Linked DNA regions of Homo sapiens: all the other regions are linked to region 5. The links are contacts of gene promoters, found by promoter capture Hi-C in blood cells and fetal thymus (Javierre and others, 2016). All regions are on one chromosome and are shown on one strand. The core of a region is centred on a gene start or on the middle of the fragment in contact, and the rest is flanking DNA. Distances in the headings are between cores, read along the strand shown. Region 1 overlaps ELAPOR2 (endosome-lysosome associated apoptosis and autophagy regulator family member 2). Region 2 overlaps DMTF1 (cyclin D binding myb like transcription factor 1). Region 3 overlaps DMTF1 (cyclin D binding myb like transcription factor 1). Region 4 has its middle 6.2 kb from the start of DMTF1. Region 5 holds the start of SLC25A40 (solute carrier family 25 member 40). Region 6 has its middle 8.9 kb from the start of TMEM243. Region 7 overlaps ELAPOR2 (endosome-lysosome associated apoptosis and autophagy regulator family member 2).

Evidence for each region. The method cuts DNA at HindIII sites, captures the fragments that hold promoters and counts their contacts. A CHiCAGO score of 5 or more calls a contact.
Region 1: a contact is called between a fragment that was not itself captured here and the fragment with the promoter of SLC25A40 in region 5, in 2 of 17 cell types (activated CD4 T cells and total B cells). The highest score is 5.7, in activated CD4 T cells.
Region 2: a fragment that was not itself captured here is called in contact with the fragment with the promoter of SLC25A40 in region 5 in 1 of 17 cell types (activated CD4 T cells); the score reaches 5.0 in activated CD4 T cells.
Region 3: a fragment that was not itself captured here is called in contact with the fragment with the promoter of SLC25A40 in region 5 in 2 of 17 cell types (monocytes and fetal thymus); the score reaches 5.5 in monocytes.
Region 4: a contact is called between a fragment that was not itself captured here and the fragment with the promoter of SLC25A40 in region 5, in 2 of 17 cell types (monocytes and total CD4 T cells). The highest score is 5.6, in monocytes.
Region 6: a fragment that was not itself captured here is called in contact with the fragment with the promoter of SLC25A40 in region 5 in 4 of 17 cell types (fetal thymus, M0 macrophages, total B cells and 1 more); the score reaches 5.6 in fetal thymus.
Region 7: a contact is called between a fragment that was not itself captured here and the fragment with the promoter of SLC25A40 in region 5, in 1 of 17 cell types (non-activated CD4 T cells). The highest score is 5.1, in non-activated CD4 T cells.

The regions. Positions count from the first base shown.
Region 1 is chr7:87,054,358-87,058,064 of GRCh38, forward strand. All of the region lies in intron 1 of ELAPOR2 (endosome-lysosome associated apoptosis and autophagy regulator family member 2), which reads right to left. Among named protein-coding and RNA genes, the nearest start is that of ELAPOR2, 3.4 kb to the right of the region's middle. The HindIII fragment of the contact is 2,372 bases long and covers 1,108-3,479 here.
Region 2 is chr7:87,185,823-87,190,128 of GRCh38, forward strand. It overlaps DMTF1 (cyclin D binding myb like transcription factor 1), which reads left to right. Exons shown (of 18, transcript NM_001142327.2): 12 at 7-158; 13 at 2,270-2,479. Among named protein-coding and RNA genes, the nearest start is that of TMEM243, 32 kb to the right of the region's middle. The HindIII fragment of the contact is 7,508 bases long and covers 1-4,306 here.
Region 3 is chr7:87,163,496-87,167,672 of GRCh38, forward strand. It overlaps DMTF1 (cyclin D binding myb like transcription factor 1), which reads left to right. Exons shown (of 18, transcript NM_001142327.2): 2 at 1-122; 3 at 1,439-1,555; 4 at 2,988-3,110. The coding sequence starts at 1,447. Among named protein-coding and RNA genes, the nearest start is that of DMTF1-AS1, 13 kb to the left of the region's middle. The HindIII fragment of the contact is 1,943 bases long and covers 583-2,525 here.
Region 4 is chr7:87,144,341-87,148,214 of GRCh38, forward strand. No RefSeq gene overlaps it. Among named protein-coding and RNA genes, the nearest start is that of DMTF1, 6.2 kb to the right of the region's middle. The HindIII fragment of the contact is 3,334 bases long and covers 898-3,874 here.
Region 5 is chr7:87,874,753-87,878,835 of GRCh38, forward strand. SLC25A40 (solute carrier family 25 member 40) reads right to left here and starts at 1,608. Exons shown (of 12, transcript NM_018843.4): 1 at 1,344-1,608. DBF4 (DBF4-CDC7 kinase regulatory subunit) reads left to right here and starts at 1,741. Exons shown (of 12, transcript NM_006716.4): 1 at 1,741-2,026; 2 at 3,301-3,473. The coding sequence starts at 1,981. RefSeq lists silencers at 1,001-1,450, 1,581-1,840 and enhancers at 1,204-1,713, 1,901-2,020. The HindIII fragment of the contact is 3,397 bases long and covers 184-3,580 here.
Region 6 is chr7:87,226,818-87,230,544 of GRCh38, forward strand. No RefSeq gene overlaps it. Among named protein-coding and RNA genes, the nearest start is that of TMEM243, 8.9 kb to the left of the region's middle. The HindIII fragment of the contact is 1,208 bases long and covers 1,420-2,627 here.
Region 7 is chr7:86,973,127-86,977,363 of GRCh38, forward strand. All of the region lies in intron 1 of ELAPOR2 (endosome-lysosome associated apoptosis and autophagy regulator family member 2), which reads right to left. Among named protein-coding and RNA genes, the nearest start is that of ELAPOR2, 84 kb to the right of the region's middle. The HindIII fragment of the contact is 3,694 bases long and covers 154-3,847 here.

The DNA.
Region 1 (3,707 bases), core at 1,044-3,543, 820 kb before region 5:
CATTGTAAATATTGATGGTGTGAATACTTGCTCGCATTTGCCTAAAACATGAGAAATGATTCTAAGCATAAGAACTGGAAATGGAAAATTCACCTCCACAGGCATTAACAGGAAAGATTAGTTACGTTAACTGCTTGAAAACAGAGGCTGAGTCCTAACTCCTTCAATAACAGTGTGACTGTAGAACCTTTGACAGCTTCACCCATAGCCCATGGCCTTCAGGGACTTCCTACAGAAAGGATGTTTCTCAGCTGTGCCCATCAAGTTCTGAAACAAAAAACATGACCATTACAGGTCTTGTGGTTTACATGGATTTTGAAGACCCAGTAGCTTACCAAATCTAGGAAGGCTCTATAACACAATTCCACTCCATCACCACCATCTCACCTCCCAGTTAACACTCAACCCATCTCCACCATCCCATAGGAAACACTCTGGTGCTGAGCACCAGTGACCTAATCACAGAATTCAATCTTCTCTCTTCAGTCATCATCTTATTTGGATTTCATCGGGCAACTGACACACAATGAGCCCTATCTTCTTCAAAGGCTTTTCTTTTTCCCACAACTCCACACTCACATTTCTTCTTTACCAGCCATTGCTACATGTCTCCTTTGTGAACTCCTCGGTTTCTGTCCCCTTTCATGTAGGTAAAACCCAAGTCCTATCTTCAGCACTTTGTTCTCACTCCCTGCATGATCTCAACCAATCCAGTCATTTCAACAATGTCTTCCATTCAAGTTATTCCCAGGTCACCACACCAGCCCACACCATGCCCCTGAGGAACAGGGCCTAATAATACCTAACTGCCTACTCAACAGCTCTACATAAAGTCACTCCTTCCAGACAGAACAAGCTCCTTATCCCATCTTCTTCACATTTCTTCTCAGGGAGGTTAAGAGGCACCATCCTCTAATCAAGTTAGAACATTTCATTCTCTCACCCTCTGCATCCACTCACTGCCAATTCTATCTAAAGCATACTACTCCTCTTTTTGAAGTCCTACTACTGCATCCTATTGCCTACCAAATGAAGACCAGCTTCTTAGTGTGATATAAGGTCCCTTATGATAGGCTCCTGCCTGCCTGTCAGATTCATCTCTCATTAAGCTTCTCATTGCATGCTGTACTTCAGTTAGAACCAATTACAATACAATGCTGTTTCATGTTTCTGCCCTTTTTCAATCTGTGCTCTTCACCTGAAATGTCTTTCCCCCAAACTAGCCTACACTCACATCTGACCCTTGTCTGCTTGGCAAATTCCTACTTATCAATTAAGTCTCATTCACTTCCTCCATAGGGCCTTTTCTGATCCCACCCCCCTCAGTAGATATGATGGCCCATTGCTTCTTTCATGGCTTCAAATCACTTAACTGCAATGTTTGTTTACATATCTGTCTCATCCTTATCCAATTAAATTATATTCTTTAAATTACTAATTTCATATCTGACATTTTGTCTAGCACATGGTATAAACTGAATGTGGAACAAAAACTGTTAGCAAAACTCATCATTCAGTAGTCAGGGAGAACAGCAGAATTGCATTATGCAAGATTTTACAGCAGTGAACTAAGAATCAGCTATTTTGTGATTTAATTTACCAAATGTAAATAATACAGACATAATCCAATTAGTTCTGTTCTTTTTACTCTCATGTACTTTTCTATCTTCTGATACCTTACTGCAACTCTGAATTATCTGTTGGCCTTTATATTTTTTTGCTCTGGCAGCCCCATTAAGTCCTATTATTCACTGAGTCAAAAATGTCATGCCAAGTCTTGGATGGGCCTATCCTAGGAACCTCTGGAGTCTCACTGTAGACTCTTCCCAAAATATCAGGATCTAGCTCTACTAATCTAGCAATAATCAGCCCTCATATTTATATTTCTCCTTTATCTTATATTAATCTCATTTCATCCTCATAATACAAATAATTGGTCATGTTTCATTAATAACATTTTATAAGTGAAACACAGGCCAAGAAACCCAAAGAAGATTTACCTTTTATAAGTTCACCCCATACAAAAACCTGAGGAATTCTATACTTTCTGATGTCCAGGCCTCATTTATTTCCTTTGAATACCATTTTCCAAAGTCACATCCTATTCTTGTGCTTCATCTGCCAGCACTTTGACTTTCCTTTTATTTCTGTCTCCCAAATGATCGCTTCCTGTTTGTGCGTGTGCTTCCACACTGCTGATCTGATCACCAGCTGAACATTCCAACACAATAACTTTTCTCCCCCTTTCGACTTCATAATCCAAAGACTTTGACAAAGGAATATGTATTTTATGAGTTTCACCCCAGAGTCCATTCCTCTGCAAAAATCTAAATGTAACTTTTACCCATAACCTAGTTTTTGAAGGGCCTTTTTTCTGAACTCAGGCAATTATAACTGGATGACTCCCAGGCCAGTTCTCTGCATTTGTCTTCCTTTAGTTGCTTTCCTCTAAAACCAGGCAGGAAAATCAGAGTTTATGTAACTTTGTTAAACATGACTACTTCTACAAAAATATTAATAAATGAGGGTGACACAAACTACTGGGGGGAAATGAGGTTCAAAATGGCCTATAGCTTTTTCTATACTCCTCAACATTCTCTCACATTGAGAGTTGGTTTTAGCTCTCAGCCTGAAAATTCCTCACTTTAACTGCCCTCACTCTGTTCCCCACTGCATAGTCTGTCCTTTGTGGCATTTGCCTCCTTTAATGTTAACAAAAAGTGGAAAATGATAAACGAGCAGGAGTGAACACAGAGTAGTTACTTTAACTGTGTCTTTATTCACAGGCGTTTAGCCCACAATCCCATAACTGTATTCAGAGGAAAGGGCTGAGCTCAAGAGGATACCCTTTCCCCACTCCCAGCACAAACATTCCTTTACCTTCAAAGTCTGAAAATAACTTGCCCTCCCCACTTTCCTCTTAAAAACAATGTCAGAGAAAAACAATGACCAATTCTGTAAATTAGCTCCACTGGTTAGACCAGATATCAAACAGATTCAACCCCTGGGAGGTCACTAGGCCTCTTCTACTTCCAAGAACTTCTAACTCCCATTAGTTCCTCTTACTTGTCAGTCATCAGGAAGAACATAAATGGATCTGTGCATTAACATTTATAAAAACATACAGCCAAAGGCAGGCTCAATAGCGTCCTCCTATATATTTTATTTATTCTCATTTTTCAGAAGGAAAATGTAAATTTCAGATCTCAACGGATGAGTCACATGCAATTTCTAAAGCCAATGCAGTAAGGACCTGTGATCAAGTGAACCCAGCCTTCCTGAACCTTCTGTCATCTCTCTGCCCCTCCTTTCAATCTTTGTTTTAGGTTGCAGACTCTTCTTTCTAGGTATACATGTGTAGGACATGTGTTCATCTAAAAGATTAGTCTAGTTGTAGAGACCAAAGGCATCACTTCTATTGACCCTGACCTTCGCCTACTTCAAGCAGATTTTCATTACTAAGAATCGATGTTATCAGAAGCTTAAGACTTTTCAGTTTAGAAAAATATATTCTGCATATTAGAAGTTGGGGGCTGGAGGATAAAGTTTATCTTGTCACAACTGTTCAATCTGAGATGTCCAAGAAGCAGCTTTCTGTGGAAACCTGGAATAATGGATTATTCCCAGGTGATATGTAAAGTTGTAGAATATAGATTAAGCTCATTATACTAAAAAGCCCTAAAATTAAACACAGCTGTTTGTTGAGC
Region 2 (4,306 bases), core at 1,800-4,299, 690 kb before region 5:
CTGTAGGATAGCAGAACTTGATGTAGCTGATGAAAATGACATTAACTGGGATCTGTTAGCTGAGGGATGGAGTAGTGTCCGTTCACCACAATGGCTACGAAGTAAATGGTGGACCATCAAAAGGCAAATTGCAAACCATAAGGATGTTTCGTTCCCTGGTAATGTATTACTTACTTTTTAAGCTCCTCCCCTTTTCTTACCATATTTACTCCTTAGGAGTGAGAGGTTAGAAGTTCTTTGCCCCAGCTAGAGATATCATAGCAGATTTCTACTTACACCACTTCCCTGTTTCTCTCAGTAATTGTTTCCTTCCCCAGAGAAGAGTTAATACTGTTTGTAATTCCTAAAGCCCCTAAAATGAAAATGTACACACTTATTCTTGTTCTTCTACGTAAACTATCAGGAGGAAATAAAATCATGCCACATAACGATTTAATTTTTATGTTTTTAGAGACAGGGTCTAGCTTGGTTGTCCAGGCCGACATGCAGTGGTGTGATCATAGCTCACTGTAACCTTAAACCTGTCGGCTCAAGTGATTCTCCCACCTCAGCCTCCTGAATAGCTCGGACTACAGGCACACACCACCATGTCCAGCTATTTTTTTTCGTAGAGATGAGGTCTTGCCATGTTACCCAGGTTGGTCTCCAACTCCTGGGCTCAAGTGATCTTCCCAGCTTGGCTTCCCAATGTGCTGGGATTACCTGCATGAGCCAGCATAGCTGGCCACTCATAACCTTTCAGTCAACAACAGATGTCATACATAGTATTGGTCTCACAATATTAAAATACTGTATTTTTACTTTTTTTCTATGTTTAGATACACAAATATTTACCATTGTGTTACAGTTGCCTACAGTATTTGGTACAGTAACATGCTGTAAGGGTTTGTAGCCTAGGAGCAATAGACTGTATAGATCATCTAGCCTACGTGTGTAGTAGGCTGTACCATCTAGGTTTGTGTAAGTACACTGTGATGATCCCATGACAGAATCACCTAATGGCTCATTTCTCAGAACATATCCCCATCCTTAAGTGATTGATGACTATATTTTTATTTTGTACAAAGATGTACTTCTGAAAACCTAAGTTTAAGTCAACTTTTGTGAGTTGTATAATTTCAAATATCTTAGCTAGGTGTGTTAGAGAAATTCTGTGATAATTTTGTAGAACAAAGGCTCTGTAATTTTCTAATTTTATTAATTATATAAATCTAGAGATCTTAAGTTGGGTTTGCTTAAAGTGAAGCATACTTTTTGTTGCCTGTTTTGCATTTAGGTATTAAACTTAGTTGTACAGTCTGTTTAATTTAGGTTACTAAATTTATTCCCCTTATTATAGCACTCTTAACTTCCATTATTCCAAAGGAAAATTTAATGCTGAGGAACTTTGCCTTGATGAAAATGTGGTTTTTTAAAATACCCAGGTATAGGCCAGGTGTGGTGGCTTATGCCTATAATCCCAGTACTGTGGGAGGCCAAGGCAGGAGGATCACTTGACGCTAGGAGTTTGAGACCAGCCTGGGCAACATAGCAAGACCCCATTACTACAGAAAAAATAAAAACCAATTAGCCAGGCATGGTGGGCATGTGCTTGTAGTCCCAGCTATTGGGGAGCAAGAGCCTGAGGCAGGAGGATGGCTTGAGTCCAGGGGTTCGAGGCTGCAGTGAGCTATGATTATGCCACTCCAGCCTGAGCAACAGAGCAAGACCTTGTCTAAAAATAAAATTAAATTAAAAAATCCAGTTAGAGAGGATAAGCGTATTTTACGAATAGAGCAAAGCAAAGTCTAGAATTGGCTTCCCTGCGCAAGAATACCATATTACTGTTTGGAAAAGAGAAGTTGCTACCTCTAGACCAACAGTCAAGGGCCCTTCAGCCCTGGCGGGGAAAACATACACTATTCGTTTAAAAAATGAAAATAAGCTGTTTAGCATTGCCAGTATTCTTCCTAAATAATAATCCTATCAAGACACCCTAGAATAGAAAATGTCCTGTTTCCATGTTCTTTGTAATGTCTACCTTTTTTTAACACTATAAATCTTAGATGGCAAGAATAACAATATTAAGAATTAAAATTTGTTACGATGTTTATAAAAATCTCAGGATATGTTGTTTTTTAAAATATCTTATTTTTATAAGCTCTCACATCCAGTATGCAGTTATTTATTCCAAATACTTTCCCTCCTTACCTCCCCCCACCTCCCTTGCTGCTTAGATGGTGGTCTGTCGGAGAATCAATGTTCTTTTTGTCTACCCATCTCCCTTCAGTCTTAATAAAAGGTCTTAAACAGTTACATGAGAACCAAAAAAACAACCCAACGCTTTTGGAGAATAAATCAGGATCTGGAGTTCCAAACAGTAATACCAATTCCAGTGTGCAGCATGTTCAGATAAGAGTTGCCCGCTTGGAAGATAATACAGCCATCTCTTCTAGCCCCATGGCAGCATTGCAGATTCCAGTCCAGATCACCCATGTTTGTAAGTGTTTGATCTTCAAGATTCCTTGCTGTTTGATCTATATGATTTGGTTAATGGCTCTGATGTCTTTTGGTTTTCTAGAATGTTAATAGAAATTTACCCAAGTCGGTGAACTGAAGGACATCTAAGATATTTTGTTTAGTTCAGTTAATATTTGCACACACAATGAATGTGTGACAGGAAGGATGTATAAGCAGTTGCCCAACCATTATAAACCATTTGAAACCATCTTAATTTCTAGATTTTGTAATTAATGACTTAATAGAAATTATTAAAAATAGAAATTAGAATGAATGATAGAAAACTACCTAAAAAGCAGTCAATCAAGCAAAGAAATAGAATTCACCAACTGGTATGTCGTGTAGTAATTTCACTAGAAGACATATCAATTGGGGATTGATTTGAGGTCGTTTGGTAAAGAAATGAGTTTTGGCAAGGTTAAGAATGATTTTCTTCAGGGAGTAAAGGGCCAGTTTCCTATTGGGAACTGTGTTTGGACAGTTTTATGCTTAATGAGATTATGGGAACCCAGCCATTGTTAGAGTGAGAACTTTTTTCTTCTTTAGGTATAAGTCAAATTGATCTTTATCCCTTCCCGTCAGTCTTGAATTATAGTGACAAAAAAAGGAATGAGGATGAAATTCTCAGAACCATATTCTTCCTTGTTTTTGGTCTACATATGCTACCTGCATTTGAAAAGATAACCCAAGAGTATTCCAATCACTATGTTAGTCTCAACCAGGTGATTATTGGCATTTTGAGCGACAGGTTTTTGCAGACTGTCCTTTACATTGCAGGATATTCAGTGTCCTTTGATCTTGCCCACAGAATATTAGTAGTACATGCCAGTCATTATGAGAAACAGAAACACCCTGCATGTTTCCAAATATACCATTATGATTCCCTGGTTGAGAATCGCAGAACCACATATTGGTGTTTAACACCATATATCCATGTACATTGACTGTCAGAGTTACCTTAGAGACATTTAAACTAACCATACCTCTTATTCTTAAAATCCTAATCTGAATTTGGTTATCTTTCTACCAGTGTAATCAACAATGAAGGATTTCTTTTCGTTTTTGTTACAGTCTGAGGATTGCAAAGCAACTAAAATTACTAGTCCAAGTAAATATGAGAGTTGCTATTGGTTATAAATTGATTGGGCATGTTAGTTTTTCTTGGCTATTGAGTTGACAGTACCCATTGGGAAGACAAACATTTTATAAATGATACCTTAATATTGATAGCATCATTTTAAATAGTATTTAGAATTTTCTCTCTTACAGCAAGAAAAATGAATATAGTTAAGTGTTCTACAATCCACCTATTACCTGTAGCATTCTAACTAAAATCTCTTTTCGTTTTTTAGGTTAGGGAACAGGGATCAGCAAATTTCTTTATGTAATGAGCCAGATAGTAAATATTTTAGGCTTTGCAGGCCACATAGGTTTCTGAGGGATAGTCTTTGTTTAGCTTTTAAACAACCCTTTGAAAATGTGAAAACCATATTGGCCTTAAGCTACATTTGTCCCTGACAGTAGTTTGCTAACCTTGATTTAGTTTTATCTGGAATCACTTCAAATTATTATAGCTGTGATCTTATGGATCCATCAAACAGTAAGATGAATATTACAAATCAAGTGCATTTCTATTGGTAAGGGCATTAGATTCCTTTTAAATAGCTGAGAAGTGTTGTAGTCAGAATTTAATAAACTATAATAAACATTACACAGTAAAAGTTCCAAATCATATTTCACATAATTTACCTATAGGTATGACTGCAAGCGCCAAAAAAGATGACATTTCTAGCATGTTCTATTTAAC
Region 3 (4,177 bases), core at 304-2,803, 710 kb before region 5:
GTGTTGCGGAGATAGGAACATGGGAGAGAAACAATCTGGGTAACATGAAAGTGATGCTGGTTGCTAAGGGAAGGCAACTTGATTCTGTGGGAAGGGCTGTAGCTGATCCATCCGTTGTCTAGGTAAGTCTGCTTCTGTTGCAAGGATCTCACATGATTTGCAAATTTGTCAAAACTAGATCATGATTTCCATTTACCTTTATTTTGGGAATGGCATAATTACTATTGTAAAATGAATGATGTCCTTTTCAAATAGTAATTTGCATAGTAAAATTTTAATGAATTATTGGATCTTTACCATGTAAATGTTAATATATTTAAGTTTTTGTGCCAAAGGAAAATACATTCACTTCAGTGGTAAATATATGAATGGACTAATATCTTGTGTATAGGAGCCAGAGAGAGCCAGGCGTGTTGGCACGTGCCTGTACCCAGCTATTCGGGTGGCTAAGACAGGAGTATCACTTGAGCTCAGAAGTTCAAGGCTCTAGGACCCTTAAGACTGTGCCTGTGAATAGCCTCTGCACTCCAGCCTGGGCAACAATGAAGACGCCTTCTCTAAAAAAAAAAAAAAAAAAAAAAAAGCTTAATAAACATTGAGTAATTATATCAGGGTTTGTGTCCTCTGTATTATTTAGTTGGTAAAACATACGTGCCAAAAGTGAGTATTGAGGCAAGAACCTCCTTAAACCTTATAAGGTATTTCTGAAGACTTCAACCAGGCTATTGATTATAGTTTCATACCTTTCCCCCCACTAGCCATGAGATGCTATATTCTGAGACTAGTTATTCCATCTGTCTGAACAAGAGGAAAATAATATTTGTGTAAAATAGCAGGTAAGGATACTTTGAACGATGTTCAAAGTTACCTGTTTCAAAAGAAGGACTAACTCGTCTTTTAAAATTACAATTTGGTCAGTGATGGATGTATGCACTTTTTCAATATTTTGAAAACACAGCAAGAATTATTTAGTGTTCCTGTTTTTCAGATAATAGAGCTTAAATACCTGTAAAAAATGTTTTGAAAAAATAATTCTTAAGATAAAAGTTTTGATGAATCTTCTGCTTAAAGAAAAAGAAGTTAAGTACCTACAAAGCTGTCCATAAAAACACAGTAAAAAAGTGGGGAAAGTTTTGCTGATAAGACGGATTCTCTTTTGTTGGATGTTGCAAAAACGTTTTTTAAAGTATTACAAATGTTGTAGGTTTTTAAAATTTATCAGAGCAAACAGATTCTTTGAGATATCTAATTCTAAATAATGGGTATAAATTTGTGAAAGGCAGTTTTTGAAATCTGAACTCTCATTGCAGTTTTACATGAAGAACACTGTAGGCAGATACCCAAATAAATGTGTGTGGTATTTCAGGGGATTATAAGGGAATACTTCATATTTGGGAATAATTTTTGAAATCCTGATCTGGAATCTGTTCTTGTACAGATTTGAGTATGAGCACAGTGGAAGAGGATTCTGACACAGTAACAGTAGAAACTGTGAACTCTGTGACTTTGACTCAGGACACAGAAGGGAATCTCATTCTTCACTGCCCTCAGAATGGTAGGAGAACTTGCTGACATATAATTCTGACTCTCTGAATTTATGAATTCCATGTCACTTTTGACCCCTATTGCCCAAATAGGGGTCTAGGTGCCTATGAGTTTAGGCTGCACAGTAGAAAAGGAGATTATCTCTTTAACATAAATGTTAGTTTTTGTCAATCTTGTTGCTATGTTATAAATAGGATCTGTTGAGCCCCCAAAGGTAATGATGGAATAACTATAATATATACTTCTTTTTTTATACTAATTGGTACCAGCAGCATAGTTAATACATTAGAAAATGTAGAATTATTCCTCAATGCAAGTAGACTTTTTTGTTAGAAACTGTGTTAAAAAATTGTACACAATCATTTCAGTATGACTTAATATGGTGATCTACAATGAATTAAGATTCAATAGCTTTCCAGCTGATAATTTTGTTGTTACTCCCCGACTTGCTCATTATTTATGTCATTTATTTATTGTGCTCTGAAGTTCATCTTTACTCAACCTAGGTTATGTCTTCTCTTCTCACTCTGTATATAATTCATAGGTTATTTAATTCAAAGTTAGGATTTTAAGTAGCACCTACCTATAAAGATGACTCAGAATCTGTCTTTATACAGAATTCTCTGTGCTTCTCATAGGCATCTTAAGTTTCATATGTCCCAAACAATCCTTACATGTACTTCCTAAACCTAGTTCTCTTTTTTCCTTTCTCTGTGAATTTCATTACTTAGTGTCCAGATCATGAATGTGGTTGGGAATAAATTACTTCTCTCATCACCTGCATCATTTCATTTGAAGACTTCTTGATAGTATTATGTTTTTTAAATCCATTGCATCCTCTCTGTTTCAAGCCTGCCTTTGTTAGTTCAGTTTCTCATTTCTCATCTAGGTAGCTCTAATACCCTTTTAACCAGTGTCCTACCTATCATTCGTCTTTCAAGCAGCTGATGAAATTGTTCCTGATACATTTAATAGCATAAAGCTTCCCAAGGTTTTTAGAATATAGTACAGGTTCTTTAATTTGGCCCATAGGCCCCAGTCATTTCTGCTTTCCTCATAGTCTTACCTCCTGCCGCATTTCATATACCTGTGTTCCAGCAGATCACACTATCTTTATTTTCCTAACATACCTATACCTTAAGCTTCTCATACGTCTGTGTCATTGCACATATTGCTTCTACTGCCAAGAGAGATAGCAGTTTTCCCCGGGCTTCCCTTCTCTTTCAAGTTTAAGACACCGCCTTGAGGAGTTGAATACTGCATTGCAGTAGGCATAGAAAGGCAGTGTCCTTTTGAATCCTGTTTGCACAACTAGGTTTAGTTAAATGAGCAAATTGGTAAGAAAATTTTTTTAATAGATAAGAAAATTGTAGAGCCATTGTTAGAGATTTTATTTTCCCTCTTTGGTTTGAAATTTTTGTTTGTTTGTTTTCTTCCATTAGAAGCGGATGAAATAGACTCAGAAGATAGTATTGAACCTCCACATAAAAGGCTTTGTTTGTCCTCTGAGGATGATCAGAGTATTGATGATTCTACTCCTTGCATATCAGTTGTTGCACTTCCACGTAAGTCACTACGTATTAAGAGCCATAGAGTTCCCTTTTAAAATCAAAGTTTAGCTTCCAAGGCTTTCAGTTGGCATTTCTAATAGACTTGGACTTACTGCTTTTTTCTTCATTTAGTCAAACCACCTCTTTTTAGCTAACAATAAATACTATGTGCCAGGCATATCGTTAAATACTTTTATGTATATTGCCTACTTTAATCTTCCCAACCTTTTTTTTTTCAATTGCCCCACAAGGAGCCTTTTTAGACTTTTATTCCTGATTGTGCTTTTCATGAAAATTACAAAATGTCCTCAAAAATAGCTTGTATTTCTTAATGTACTGTCTGTATGTCCTTGCTTTGTTCATAAAGATAATAAAATTGTTTGTCACATGCATTTCCCCCTACCCCAAGAACCATATTTGCCCTCATTGAGAAGAAAGCATGCTTTACAATAGGTACTAATATTGTTATTCCTATTTTATAAGTCAGGAAACTGAGACACAGAAAATTATAATAACTTGGCTAAGAGCATATCTAGGCATTCTGGTTCCTGTAATACATACTCTTAACCCCAATGCCATATTGCCTCTTCAGTATGCTGTATGACAGCATGAAAGTTAGAAGCCTAATTAGTTTATTCTTACCGAGAAAGTTCTTAATGTGTTTCTATTTCAAGATCATTTAGAGTAGACTGGCTTCTATAGGAGGTACAATATTTCAAGTGCAATACTGTTGGCACAAGACAGCATACCAACTGCAACATTAGGTTGTATTTCTGATTTGCTTAGCAAAGAGTGTGGAGTGTTCAGGAAGATTCTGGAGTAGATGCTTTTGTCCATGGCAATGGGGATGCAACACATGGCTGTTGGCACTCTTAGCACAAAGGAGGGTTTTGCCATAGCTGAGAACTTTGATTTTACACTCAGCATCAGGCAAAATCACATCTTCATCTTTTGAAAAAGCAAGACTTGGTTTTCAGCATGGAAAATCATATCTATCATATCTTAACAAGTAGATATGTACTCTGAATTTAGAGTTAATTGCTTGCTAAATTGAACAGAAAAACTTTTAGTTTACTGTAAGA
Region 4 (3,874 bases), core at 1,315-3,814, 730 kb before region 5:
GCTGATAGGTCTTTTATGACCTATTTTCAGAAGTCACATAGCACCACTTCCTGCATATTCACTTCGTTAAAATTGCCACAAAAGCTGTCCAGTTTCAAGAGGAAGGAGTCATATACCACCACCTGTCACTGAGAGAAGTGTCAGAGTCACATTATATAAAAAGGTTGTTGGATGGGAGATACTGCTGTAGCTATCTTTGAAAATATATGACCTGCTACATTGCAAGCCTTATAGGGAAGTTCCATAAGAAACAGGGCATTTGAGTAGTAGATTAGCAGAGTTATAAATGTAGGAGTCATCAGTGTATAGAGGGCAATTGAAGCCATTGGAGTGGATGACATTACTTAGGGAAAGAGGATAGAATAAGAAAGAGACATAGGCTTAGGGGTCACCGTGAAGAACTCTAAAATTTAAAAATCAGGCCAGCAAAAAAGTGTTTAAAGAAGTAGGAGGAATTCCAATGTACTGTATCAGAAAGCCTAGAAAATGCATTTTCAAAGAAGGAAGAGGTGGTTATTTCAGGAGGAAATGTTGCTGACAAATTAAGTAAAATGATCATAGAAAATTGTTCATTGGATCTAGCAGTGTGGAGGTCACTAATAATCTTCATAGCATGTTATGGGCAGAAATCAGACTATAGTGGTGGAAAACATATAAAAGGAAGTAAGAATAGTTCTATGGGGAGATGAGATCAAAAGCACAAAAAGAGGAATTAGCCTTGAATAAGAGAAGGAACATCTCTAGGATCGGAGGGAAGGAATTTAGAATGAGCACAGATGAATGCATGGGGATGGAGGCAGGCTATTGAGGGAGTTTATGCTTAAAAATCTCTGTAAAGGTCATTTATTTATAGAGAATTAAAAGGAACATCCATCAGGGTGTGAGAAGCACTCCGAAAGCTTGTTACAGAGTGAAAAACAGTTACATTCCTTGCAAACCTGCAGCGTATGATCCATGACTTCTTTCATTGGAATTGAATTTCACTTTTTACTTGTTTAAACAACAATAAAAAGAAAAACAATCAACCACTTTTCTATTTAAATTTTCAAATAAATAAAGGATTTAAGAATATCACACTGTAACACCAACTGAATATGAGAATGGTAGGAAAACCCTGGTCACTTGTTGAATGCTACCATCAATTGTAAGCCATTTACCCAAGAGAAATCTAAAATCCTTCTTTCGATTTATTACTTTATCAAAAATATTGTTGTGGTAAAGACATATAAGAAAGCCCTAAAAGTGAAAGGCTTCAGATTTATTTTCAGTGTTACCCATAGCAGGAGACGGATTTCTTATATAGTACTATATTTACTGTGACCTTTTCAAATAACAGTTATTTATAACATTATGTATGAGACATTGTTGTATCACATATTTCTCTAGCAATTGGTCTACAATGGTAAAGTACCATGGATTCCTTCCCAGAGGAGATTCTTGTGAAAATTTATTACAGGCTCAAGATCAAGAGTGTTCTCAGAGAATGATTCCATGGCAGACAGCTGTTCGGCAAAAGAATAGAAAAAAGAAAAAAAGATTCCAGCATCATATGAAAATGGACTTCTGTTCAACAAAAACAGAGCTTATCCAACAGAGATAGAGAAAGGAGTTTCACCTTATTTCAGAAAATGACTGCGATAGCCTTGTCTTGCTACACCAGGTTGAATTAACATAGGCCAAAAGTTCTACGTAAATGTATATTTCTGGTTAAGAAATGTAAATAAACACAGAAAACAAGATATTAGAGATACTGTGACTGCTGAATTCACATATCTTCCTTATCCTAGGTTTGCTAAAATAGATATAATACTGCTGAAATTACAAAATATGATTATATATAATAAGGTTATTCTCAAGTCTAAACACCCCATAGAAACTCTCCTTTCCTAATCCTATTAGCCCCAATTTTATTAAATTAAAAATTATATATTATATGACTTCACCTCTGCCCACTTAAGATGCAGTCACTGTAACAAAAGTACTATGCTATGGAATTTAATTTGATACAGTTATATTTACTACAACTTACTACAATGTAATTCTTAAACTAGGTATTAAAAGACTGGGTTGATATTTCAGGTAATTTTAGAGGAGAAATAACATGTTTGGCAGTGTTTTCTGTTGGTTCAGATCTTAACTCTTAACAATTTCAGGTCCAGAAAGACCTCTACATTGCCCGTGTTTATATACATACGTTGTATGTCTATTAAAGGGATTCAGAGAACACCAGCCAAAGGAGATTCAAGAGGACGTATGTGTTTCTCTTGTGCATAAAACACTTTGCCTAGAAACATGAAAACAGAAATTTCCAAGAAGAAACACATTGACCCATCTTTTCTAATACTAGTAATTTAGCTTAATCTGATGATACCAAGTGATTTTGTCACAGGATCCTTTGAGAGTCACGTCACCAGCCGGAAACCTCTGTGGCCGGCAGCACCTCTGCTTATGTTTCGCTCGCACCAGCTGGGCTCATTCTGCCCACTTGGCCTGGCAGACTGCCCTCGGCTCGCACTACCAGCCTTGATCCCAATGCCTGAGGATGGCAGGCCAGGCGTGAAGCGGTGAGGGGTGTGGGAGTGAGCGAGCGCGAGGTCTGGCCACTGCACACAGATAGGCACACTGGATGCTGCAGTGAGGCAGGCAGCTCCAGGCACCAGCACAGGCACCTGCTCCACGCGAGAGGCTGCAGCTGGACCAGGCATACTTCAAGCGGCTTCCACTGTGGGCACCGGCGTCTGGACGAAGGGAACATGGTGGCACCTGAAAACTTGGGAGTCACCAGCAACTGCAGAGCCCCCCAAGGGCGGGGGGTGGGGGTCATGCTACAGCTCTCTTTCCCACTGCCTGCAGCTCAGCGAACCAGGGCGGGGACATGTTTCAGCCCACTCAGTCCTCCTGCCTCACTCCAGCCCACCACTCCCGGGATGGCTCAGCCCCACCACCGCTTCCCATCACGTGGGGCAGCTGCCCAACACCAGCAGATGGCGGGAGGGCTATAGTGTTACAGCTCTGGCTCAGGGAATCCCAAGGTCTGGGCCTCCAAAAGACTCGCTGCTCTTCACTCCCCTAGTCGAGCAAGTGGGAGCATGTCATCGCCCACTGCTCAGTGAGCCAGCCAGGAAAGTGTTATAGCCCTTTTCATGCCCTCTCTTCTGCAGGTCATGAGTTCTTGTCCTGCATCCAGGAAAAATGAGGTTACGTGGATAATCGGAGGGTGAGCAAGGCAGAGAAGAGTTTCACTGAGTGACAGACAGCTCTCAGCAGAGAAGAGACGCAAGTGGGTAGCTCCTATCTGCAGGCAGGTAGTGTTGACTCGTGGATGAGTCCAGGGTTTTTATGGGCTCAGAATGGAGGAAGTGTGTGTTAACTGGCCCATGGGTGGGAGGAAGTGCGTGCTGATTGGTCCATGAGTGGGCCTGGAAAAAGCACCATTTGATTCATTCAAAGGCATTAAGAAAGTTCTCACTCTGGGTACTGGATTCTACTTGGAACTGGCGGCCCGGTTTTCAGGCTTCAGGCTGTCTTTGGCTTGAAGGTCAGGTTTCACTGGGACCTGTCCCATCCACCAAGGAATTTGTCTGCCTCCTACTGCTATCAATTTGATTCATATTTTGTTTTCTTCCCTCATTGTTAATTATAAGCAAGTTTTACAGGCAGTTGCCAGTAATTTAGTGAGTACTTTACCCAAAAAAGTTTGGCACAAAGATGCACTTATACTACTATAATGTAAGCTCCTCCATTAGAATATATGTTCCTTGAGAGCAGGGTTGTCTCTCTTGTTCTCCATCATATTTCCTGTGCCTAAAATAGTGCTCAGCCCAAAGGAGGTGCTCAGGAAGAGCTGCTGAATGAAATGACCGAGTGTATCACA
Region 5 (4,083 bases), core at 358-2,857:
TAAAATTGGGGCTCAAAATTACCCAGAGGCCAAGTAGTTAGTGAAGCCCATATGATTCCAATGTTTGCAGTCTCTTCCCAATTCTGTGGCATTTTCTCCATCTCTTTCACTATTTCATCAACGACGCTTATAATCAATTCTCTTATTTCACATGCTCTCCTTGGCAATTTCATTTCCTCCCAAAGCTTTAACTACATTCTATATTAGTGCTTCCCAACTTTTTAAATCTTTCTGTAAATATAAACATTTTGTGCTCTCTGTAGCTTATATTTTGAAAATAAGTTTTTTCCCATAGAAATTACAATATTGAATATGTTTGTTCAAACTACACTTCCTTCCACCACTCAAGATCTGTTAACCTCTAATGAATTGCCCCATGATTGACATCAATAGACCTTGATGCAGAAATATTTTATTGGAGAGATATCAAATCAATCTCTATTTCCTCTTCCCATGTCCACTTCTGCTAGACATTTCTCTCGAGTCATAAACATCTTTAACTGTCTAATAAGCATAGTTCCATGACTGTCGCCCCAGGCCCTTCAACATAAACCTGTCTAAAACCAAACTCTCATTTCCCTTAGCAAACCTGTTCTCTGCGTTCTCCAGCTAATCTTGTCACAACCCACCCTTGTCTATTCTTTAAGGTACCTACCTGCAAAACCGTAACGCTGATACTCTGACTTCCTTGAGCTACCAGGTAAAAAAATCAACCACTACAGGAGTGCCTATTATGGCCTGGAGTAGAGGAATGCAAAATAGTTCAAAATATCCTCTTCCTCCTGAAGAAACAGATTTTTTTTTTTTTTTGGAGAGGCATGTTCCAACTTATAAAATTAAAATATATTCACAAGCATTTTAATTTGATCTTTAATCTCTGTTTTACAGGAAAAAAAAATGAGATGTTACTTTCCACTCCTTCATTGTTGAAATAAACTTACACTCAACTAAAAGAAAACAGGTCTGAATACAATAAAAGTCAACAGGACAGCGCAAATAGCCAACTACCCAAGGACACAAAGTGACCTGGAGGCGTTCTGCGGTGGCGCTGCCGTCAAGGCCGGGGCCGCCTGGCCAGACCCTCCCTCAGACGCCCCCCGGGGCCGCCCTCACTCCCGCACGTCCCTCTGCAGCTGTCCTCAGCCGGTGGGGTCGGCAGTGACCGCGGGAAAACCCCGCTTGCTGTGCGACCCAGGGCGCGCTGAGCAGGGGCTGCGGCTGCCGCCGCTGTCCGGCTCCGGTTCCGGCCCCGGCCCCGGGCCCGGCCAGAGCTGAGTCCGGACTCAGCCAAAGCCCCTCGCCTTCAGCTTCCCAGACGTCCGACCAGTGGAAAATTAGCATACCTGGGGCAGAAGGCAGCTGCAGGGCCGGCAGTCCTGGCAAACCTAGAAGGCGGGAATAACCCTGGTGACGGGCGGGGCCGGGCTCCGGCGCTAACTGCATCCACTAGGTTTGGTCAACACAGAGCCGCGCCAACTCTCTGAGGCTGCGCCAAGACCTGAAGCGGCGGACCGAGAGCCCGGGTCTGAGACTGAGAGAGCAACGGAATGGAGGCGGGGTAGAGGCGGAAACACAACCTGCAGGGCCAGAGCGAGGCGCGAGAAGGACGGCGGCGTGAGGGGGCGGGGCGCGCAGCGCGAGAAGGCAGGCACGAGGGGCGAGCGCGAGGCGGGGCACGGCGCGTGGCGTGAGACGGGGCGGGGCGCGCGTATCGGCGCCGCGGCCGCGTGACGCGTTTTCAAATCTTCAACCGCCGCAGCCCACTCGTTTGTGCTTTGCGCCTTCCTCCTCCGCGCCTTGGAGCCGGATCCGGCCCCGGAAACCCGACCTGCAGACGCGGTACCTCTACTGCGTAGAGGCCGTAGCTGGCGGAAGGAGAGAGGCGGCCGTCCTGTCAACAGGCCGGGGGAAGCCGTGCTTTCGCGGCTGCCCGGTGCGACACTTTCTCCGGACCCAGCATGTAGGTGCCGGGCGACTGCCATGAACTCCGGAGCCATGAGGATCCACAGTAAAGGACATTTCCAGGGTAAGAAGCCCCTCCTCCGCCTGCAGTCCCTTTAATCCTTTCCTCCCCTCGTGGTTCCACCATTGATTCTTCAGACTTCTCCCGCCGGGTCCTCAGCTTCTTTTCTTCTGACCGGCCTCTGGGGTCTGAAGGAAGGAGCCCCCGTTCAGTGTTTTGCCTAAGAAGGAACGGATCCTGACCCGGCCCCTCGAGCGCTCTGCCGTTTACAGCGGCGGTCCCAGATTGATTCCCGGTCGTGCCTTCGGTTGAAAACTAGCAAACAATGTGCAGATCCGGGACCTCGCCGGGACTGCGGCGCTGTCTGCTCCCGGGCTCTCGCATATGCTAAGCCTCCGCCCGGGCCCTTGGAGGCGACGGACTGCATCCTCAATTTAAAGTCAGACGCGCTCGTGGCTTTTCGCTTCAGGATTAGATTGAGTGATTGTGGGTGGATTTTTGGTCTTACCCTTGAAAGTTTATTTTCCTTTCCTCATAAGTTGGGGGAAAGCATTGTATTTCAAACACCCCATTGCTGGTTTCAACATTACAAACAGGGAAACAAAAGCAAATTTCCATTTTCAGTCACTTTATTTGGTGAAACATTCCAGCACCTAAGTTTTTTGTACAGGTGTTTGTGTGTGTGTAGTAACTACCAATTTAAGAACAGATTGCGTTTGAAAAATTAATTTTTAAAGCAGTTGCTTGGATCTCAGATCTGTTTCTAATGAAAATAATGAAAGGTTTAGTTCTTCGTAATGGACCGTTAAGTTCTTAATACGTAGACAAATTGTATGTGAAATGGACCGTTTAGTTGTTAATATGCAGACAAACTTTATATGAAACTAAAACTTGAGCAGTCTGAAACCCTTGAGGACTAGGTTATTCTGCGTAACAGAGGATTCTTTCATCGCTAAATGAAGTTTAAACACCAGTTTTGAATGTTCAGCAGAATGGCAGATGCTCAATAAATAGTTGAGTATTAAATATCCCCATGGAGTTTACATCCTAAAAAAAGAAAATCTTTCAAAAGAGTTTTATATAGTTCCGTGCCTCAGGAATAAACACACGAATATTTCTTGCTGAGTCAACTATTATTTTACAATATGCGGTCTGTGAAAGTATATAGGGCATTTTGCCTCTATCCTAAGTAGTACTACAAAGAAATACATTTCAATGCTAATAACTTAAACTGGTAGGGTTGTAAGGATTTTTATTCTGTAATATTGTATAATGAAATATTTTAAAAATAGTAAAAGTGTCTGTGTAAAACATCTGATTCTAAACATCTTTAATAGGTGGAATCCAAGTCAAAAATGAAAAAAACAGACCATCTCTGAAATCTCTGAAAACTGATAACAGGCCAGAAAAATCCAAATGTAAGCCACTTTGGGGAAAAGTATTTTACCTTGACTTACCTTCTGTCACCATATCTGAAAAACTTCAAAAGGACATTAAGGATCTGGGAGGGGTAAGTGAAAACCGTACACTGGCATAGAAGGAAAAATTTGTAACTAGTACTTTCTACTGTGTAATCATTTAAATTTTTCATTTTGGAAAACGCTTCTATTAGCACCAAGCTTAACATTTTTATCAGCTGTTTATCGTTAACAAAAAACCATTTGTTTTAACCTTTTGTGGACTGACAGACCTTTCAGGTTTCTCTGATTAGCAGTCTAGTGTAAAGTTCTTAGAGTGTAAGACTCCCCTGTCCTAGTGGAACTGCTCATTGACTGCTTACTGTAATGTTGGAATGTCCTCCAGATAACAGCAATTTCTTGATTATGAATCTTGGGGAGCTACATAAGTTTGTCTGGACTAGTGTAACAGTTAAGAATGTTACTACAGAACAGCCATGCAAACCACAGTTAAAATTGTTCCTGAGTGATACAGATGTTGTTTCAACAGAATGAATGTTATTAAAGGAAAAGAAATTTGCATTAAGAATCTGGAATACCTTCTTTCCTACCTTATACACTGATTAGATGATTGGGAAATTAGAAAACTCAGGCAAAATTCTAGGACCTTAATAGGATTAAGGTTGATATTGGCTGAATTTTGGCAAATGAGGTAATTAAGAT
Region 6 (3,727 bases), core at 774-3,273, 650 kb before region 5:
ATGAAAAAAGGCAAAGGGAAAAACCAAATCAAGATGGGAGGAAGGCTGCAGTTCCAAAGGAAAGTAACAGAAGGAGATTAAGGGAGAAAATGTCTTTCAGCAGCACAAGAGCCAGATGGGAGTAACTGCTAGGGGAGCACATAGTCTGAATAGTCATGTAATGGGAAAATTGATTTACAGATATAAGGAACTTAGGCATTGCAACCAATTGCACACATCAATCTGTATGTGCTCCTAAGTGTAGGTAGGATCTGTGGGCCTACTGATAAAACTTTTTGAATAGAAGGATGAGATTTCTACATACCCCTTGCATATCAGGCAGGTGCTATGGACCAACCACCTCCACAACTGGGAGACTCGAGCCTGGTCTGAGCTGGGGAAAGTCAGTGTCAGTACCAATTTCCTCATCTGTAAAAGGAAAAATTATATTCTACTCTGACTGATCTAAAATGCTAATACATTAGCTGGGCATGGTGGCAGGTGAATGTAGTCCCAGCTATTCAGTAGGCTGAGGTGGGAGGATCACTTGAGCCCAAAGTGGATCACTTGAGCCTGGGATGTCAAGGCTGCAGTGAGCCGTGATTGCACCACTACACTCCAACTTGGGTTGGACCCTGTAAAATAACATAATAAAATAAAATGCTAATACACTGTGAAATAATTAGAAGATCTATTTTTACATTTTTGTACTTTTGCACCAGGCATGGTGGCTCATGCCTGTAATCCCAGCACTTTGGGAGGCTGAGGCGGGAGGATTGCTTGAGGCCAGGAGTTCAAGACCAGCCCTGGCAACATAGCGAGGGCAGGCTTGATGGCACATGCTTGTAGTCACTGTACCAGGGAGGCTGAGGTGGGAGGATGGCTTGAGACCAGGAATTCAAGGTTGCGGTGTGCTGTGATCACACTCTGCACTCAGCCTGGGTGACAGAGCAGCAACTTGTCAAAAGAAGGAAGGAAGGAAGCAAAGAAGGAGAAAGAAAGAAGAGGGAGGGAGGAGAGAGAAAGAAAGAAAAAAGAGAAAGAAAGAAAAGACAAGAAAAGAAAAGGAAGGAAGTATTTCTAGATTTACGTAAAAGTTGAAGAGAGAGATAGTACAGGGTATACCCTTCACCCAGCTTCCCTAACATCTTATCAATATAAAACCATGGTACATTTAACAAAACTAAAAAAAAATAGCATTGGTACAATACTATTATCTAACTAGGGGTGTCCAATCTTTTGGCTTCCATAGGCCATATTGGAAAAAGAAGAATTATCTTTGGCCACACATAAAATACACTAACATTGATGATACCTGATGAGCTAAAAAAAAAATCACCAGAAAATCTAATAATGTTTTAAGAAAGTTTATGAATTTGCACTGGGCCACATTCAAAGCCATCTTGGACTGCATGTGGCCCATGGGCCACGGGTTGGACAAGCTTGATCTAAACTATAGATATTATTGAGAGTTCTCTATTTTTAAATAAGGCTGCTATGTAGTGAGACCTGTGTCCTTGAGCAAATCTCAGAGGCTGTCTCTTATGTCCACTAATAAACAAAAATTTCCTCTCTCATAGAGGTGTTGTAGGAATTAAATGAGATGTAATAGGTGAAATAGTTTTTTTTTTGTCTTTTTTTTTTCTTTTTGTGGAGAACGGGGTCTCACTATATTGCCCAGGCAGGTCTTGAACTTCTGGGCTCAAGCTATCCTCCTGCCTCTGCCTCCCTAAGAGCTGGGATTACAGGCTTGAGCCACTGTGCCCAGCCGTGAAATAGATTTTTACTCTAAACTGCTATTCACTGGAATAAGCCACAATGGATAAGAGATAATTTTTAGATGTTTTAATAATTGACTTGGCAGTGCTACTGAAGCAGATAAAATCTGCAGCACTGGTCTAGCAGCATACATTGCTGAAACACTGTTCTCAATTTGAAAGTGTAAAATTTGCCCAGAGAAATTAGAGAAATACATTCATTAAGTCAATCCTCTCAAATATGAGCAAATAGATTCTTGAGCAGATAAACAATTTCCTAAAGTTCCTACAATAACTTTTGGATTTTTCACATGTGTATTATTTTTAACTAATTAATTTCATGAGTCAGGAATTTGAAAATATTTAAGGACAGGTAAATAATTTTTCAGGTTTTGAACTATATTTCTTAAGAAAACTTAGGAAAAAGTAATGGAACTAATACCAGTTGTTATTTCATTATTTCATTCAAAATCTAGAATATTACTGATAATAATTTTGAGTAAATTATTTAAAATTCAGGCATACCTTTAGGAAATGTGTGTACCATACCCTGGCTGTTTTTTTTTTTTTCAGTTATTCATTTAGCCTTAGGAGTTTCCATTTCTTCATTGTAAAATGGGCACAATGGAATAGTTTTTCAAACCTCTCTGAGACTGACATCATGTGACTGTTTCACCACAAGAGAGAGGCCTAACATTAAAGGGGAGAAAGAAAAAACAAAATAAATGTAAATGTAGTTCACAGATGCAGGACAGTTATAGCTGTTTTTCATGTAATGATATTATTGGCCTTTATGTTTTAGACGGAGTGGTGGTTTAAAGTCTTTTTCACAAAGGTATTTTCTCTGTGATAATTTTAAACACAGCACGACACAAACACTGTACACACTCAAGCTTAAACCTGCCAGCCTTGATGTAGGTGACTTTCCCATACTATTTAAGTTGTTCTCTAAATAGACATAACAGTGGGGGTAGTAACACTTCTTTTCTTAGAATAATGCCACTCTAATTTTTTTAGGAAGACTAGACAGAAATACAATCTTATTGCTTAAACATCCAGCTTCACAGTGAAAAATAAATATCTGAAGAAGTTAATAATATTGCTTAACATATCTATGACATCTTTTTCTAATAATGGGCAATATATCAATTTAACCTTTCAAGTGTACAAATATGGGCAGGGTGTGGTGGTGCATCCCTATAATCCCAGTGCTTTGGAAGGCCAAGGCAGGAGGATCACTTGAGCCCAAGTGTTTGAGACCAGCCTGGACAACATAGGGAGACCCCACCTTGAGCCCAAGTGCTTGAGACCACCTGGGCAACATAGGGAGACCCCATTAACTAGGCATGGTGATGCGCACCTAAAGCCTTGGCTACTTGGGAGGCTAAGGTGGGAGAATCACTTGAACCCATGAGTTCAAGTGAGCTATGATCACACCACTTCATTCTAGCCTGGGTAACAGAGTAAGACCTTGTTGATGGCAAAGGCAGCCAATCTGGTGCACCCACTGCAAAGACGTCTACTGCAGCAGGGGAGGTTATCAGTCTGCAGGTAACTAGTGGGAGCCCAGCCCCTTTCTGAATTGGTGGGGCAGGAGCCCTGCCCTCCTGGGTGCAGCTGCAGCTGCCCAGCTGCAGCTGTGGACCTGGGCATCTCTGAACTCTTGGGGACCAAGGAAGACTCCTTCCCCCACAGGCTGGGAAGTGCCTGCTCCTGCTGCCTGGCCTCGCCCTCCTCCTGGCACCCTCTCTGATTTTGGAGCAAAGTTGAGGCCCAGCCCAGGCACTGTCATGACCCAACCAGGTGTGTGTGCACTCAGGGTGGTGCTAACATGCCAGCCCCCTGCCACCTTGGCCCCCTCTAGACTTTGGGTGCCTACCAGCATGGGAGGGAGGCTGATGGGGGCCACTGAGGGGAGCTCGGAAGAGGCCTGGAGGCTGCCCTCCTCACAAACAGACTGGGTGCTGTGGACAACATGATTGATGAAGGCA
Region 7 (4,237 bases), core at 751-3,250, 900 kb before region 5:
TACTACACTCCACAGCCAGTTCTAAATGGAAGATCTCATTATGTCATCCTTGCTCAAAACCCCAGAATGACTTACCATTGGCCTGAGGATAAAGTCTACAATCTTGGATTGCATAAAATGCCTTTTTCAATTCATTCTCGATCTGCTGCTTGAAGCTTCATTTCTTAACATTATTCATATATGAAATATTGAAACTACAGGATCAAACATGCTATACAATTCCTTGCCTCCAGACCCCAGCATGTAAGTGACTTTTTCTCTGCCCGGAAGGCTCTTTCTGCCCACATCTTGAAATAGCATGTGGAAATCTGTATGATAACAAATCACTGTGTAACAGGTTCTCTTTCAGGTCCACCCCTACTCTTTGCAGGACCAAGGCCAGGAGCATAAATCAATGTGCCTCTTCCTCCTCAATACCTATCCTGCACCCTGAGAGGTCTGCTTCACATACAAAAGGCAACCCCAGCCTGCACATCCAACTCTGGTAAGTGTTCCTGCACAATGGTATGGTCTATTAATACATCAGGAAGATGGACCTGGGAAACCTCACAAAGGACCTGGAAGCAATCTTGGATCTTTTAGGCAGGTAATTTCAAAGTCATGTTAGCAGAGTATGATAAAAAGAAGGTGGGGCATGACATCCAGGTGGCCACAGCTCCTTGGCCCACAGACTGTAAAGCAACAAGAGGAACACAGCTAGAGGAGGACCCTCTATAGTAGAGACCAAGGCAGGGGCCCCTCTTGCCTGGTCTAAAGGTAGTATTGGTTTCTATTATATGACAACATCCAAACATAAGAATAGCAAGAAAGATAGCTACCACTTTATAAACTAAAATTTAAAATTTCTTAGAAGGGAGGGAGGATCCCTCCCTCTACCTCTTGAAGGGTCTTCACGTAACTGGGTAATAGTAATTTTCTTTTTTTTTTAATTCCAAACCCAAATTAAAATCACAACGGTATATGAAAGTATAATTTTCCAAAAAGGGAAAAGCAAAATCCTTGGAAACCCATTTGTTCTGTCTAATTATATATGGTTACAAACTTAACTGTATATAAGCTAATAAATTCTTCTAAATTAATCAGGCTGAAACTAAAAGGGCGTCTTTGCTTTTGCAAGGTTTCAGCAACTGCTTACTATTTAATAAGCACCAAGAGAAACTACATCAAAATTTCCAAATATATTATATATACCCCGTGATACCTCAATTCCACTTCTAGGCATGTAATCCAAGGAAGCCATGTTTGTATCATAGCATTATTTAAAATAGTGAAAACTTTAAAACAATTTAACTGTGAAACAATAAGAGACTGGTTAATAAATTAGGGTACACACATAATAAGATTTCATATAGTCCATTTTAAAATAATACAAAGGTATATTTAATAACAAAATTATTTATGACACATTTAAGTGTTAAACACAGGTTATAAAGCAATATATCTGAACCCCTGTAGTGTGTGTGTGTGTGTGTGTGTGTGTGTGTGTGTGTGTGTTGGATACATGAAAAAAGACTATAGGCATATATACCAAAAGATTGACAGTAGTTAACTAAGTGATGTGACTATCTTTATTCTATATAATTATGTATTATCAAAATTTTCTACAGTTAAAATATATTTATTTCCCTCAGTTCAGTTAACTGCTTTGCCAAGACATAAAAAAAAATTCATATTTCTCCTTACTTTAGGATATCTGGTGGGACATGGGAAAATTCAAATGGTACCACTGAAGGATTATTCCATAACATTCATTAGCACCTCAGTCTAAATCACTTTCCCTGATGGGTGACATTCACCTAGCAAGGCTTTAAAGGCCAGGTCATAAGTAAGACACAGGTCAGATAAGTTCTGAAGAAGGGAAAATCTAACGCTTAAGTACTTTCGAAATGAGCAGATACAAGAAGGATTCTGCTACAGAGTGGATAAAGAAAAGTGGGAATAGTCAAACGAGAGAAAAGAGAACAAAGAGATGATGGAGCACAGACAGCACAGTTCGCTGACTTCAAAATTTGGCTTCAGAAGGGATAACTCCACATCTGAATTCAGCTAAGCCGCTGGCAGATCTCAGACAGAAAAAAAATTATAAAAATTCAATTTAAATGTAAAAGCTGATTCTTGCCAATGCTGCCACTTGAAATTGAGCTTTACTTTGTACAGAAATAGTATAAGTGATAAATGGCTCTGAACATTAAGACATCCAAAATTATGTTTTTGTTTGCAAATTGTGAGATAAATAAAAATAAGTGAGTTATTTAAGTTCTTTTGCACTCAACTGACCCTGTAAGAATCTCTTAAATCAATAGATTTTTTAAAAAATAATAATGTAACCCTAATAATACCTCTGTCATAACTATACTTTCTAAAATTAACCTTAAAACATCTATTAAAAGGTTTTCTTCTTAATCATAAACATTAGACACCTGCTGTTCTGTCTGCCTGGCATGGCTTTCCTATTTCTTTAGGTAACAGCATGCCCCCTGCTCTCATTACACTTTGCAGTTCTGAGTGGGCCAACCCCTGGCCAGGCCCTAATATGGACATGCTATCTGGACAGTCACAATAAACTATTCACACTGGTGCTAACCAAGATGGAGAAAGTCCGCTACAGTTTCTTTTTCCCACTCTGCCCAAAATATAAAAGCAAGACTCTGCAAAATAAACAGCAGGTAGTCTGAATAAGAAAGTCAAAACTTTCTAACAGCTAATACAATGGTAGGGAGTTACCGGGCTTCTTTTCTTTCCTTTTTCTCCTTGAGCTGAAGGTGGGCCAAATCAGGGAATTGCACAGTGGGTTCAGAATGCAAAAAACTACAAGAGAAGCCCATTTTTCTGGCCAGAAGAATAAGAAAAGAGATCCCTGTGGTTGGAGTACTGGGAGAGGGGAAATGGGATCAGAAAGTGAGAGGGATATCCATGTGCTTTTTTTCTTCTTTTTCTCTTCCAGTCCTTCCCCACGGCCAGCACCAGCTTAGAACAGCACTGATTCCACAACAACCATGCAAACACCTAATATGCCAAGAGAAAACCTCTCTCTCTAGATAAGATAACTAGAACAGGGACTTCAGCTGTGCAAAGAGCTTAGGAGAAAATCCTTATTATTCTTTTTCTTCCTTCCTTCACTTGTCACTTCATCCCAGGCAAGTAGAATTGCACAAAAACATGCAGGCTAAAACTATACAATAATCCATCTTTCTGGCCAGAGGAAATATAAAAAGCAGTCCTGAGAAAATATTCCAGAGAGTAATAGAGAAGATAATCCTCTGGTTCAGTCTATGAAGTAACAGTCCCAGGCTCACCTTCAAACTGTGCAAATATGGAATATACTCAAAGAAGTATAGCAAAGGCATGGAGAGCTGAACTACAATATAAACCACTATCTGAACTAAACCCTGAGTATTGAGCAAGGGGCAGATGATCCTGCCCCTCACCTGCCCCCTCCACACACACAAAAGATAAAAACAGCCAAAGTTTTGAAAACTGAATAGACACTGGAAGGAACCACCACACATAAAAGGGAGAAAAAACATGTGGTCTGAACCTAACCAGGTCAACTGGCTGCTGAAACAAACCAACCGTCTACAGAGGATTTTATAAGGATCTAGAGATTCACAACATAATATTAAAAATATCCAGAATACGATCAAAAATCACTTGGATATACAAAGAACAAGGAAAATCCGACTAATGCTCCAGAGAAAAGACAATCAACATATAACACCACCAAAATGTCACAAATATTAGATTCTCTAAAAAATGTAAAGCATCTATTACAACCATCATGCATAAGGTTAAGGTACTCTAGGGCCTGGGGTCCTCAGAACTGCCCTGCATAAGTTCTGTGTTTTCAAGCTTAAACTGTGTGAGTCGGGTTGCTGTCACTGCAACTATGGGTGCTAACAGATACTTGAGATAGGCAATAATTCTATAATACCAACTCATATTTATGTATGTCTCAAATCTCAGTCAAGGTTGATGAGTGTGGTGGTGATGATAGCTGCCACTCATTAGTGATACATATCAATCATTGTGCTAAGTTCACAATATCTTAGTGCTGTCGACCACCTTGTAAGGCAGAGTTTTTACAGATAAGGAAACCAACAAAGATTTAAGTAACCTCCCAATGTCATAGAGCTGATTTATAGGGGTTCTGGGATTAGAATCTAAGTGCCTAACTCTAAAGCCTGTCCTCATGACCATTATAGTTCCCGTCCTGGATCCTAAGAGCTAATGTTAAATC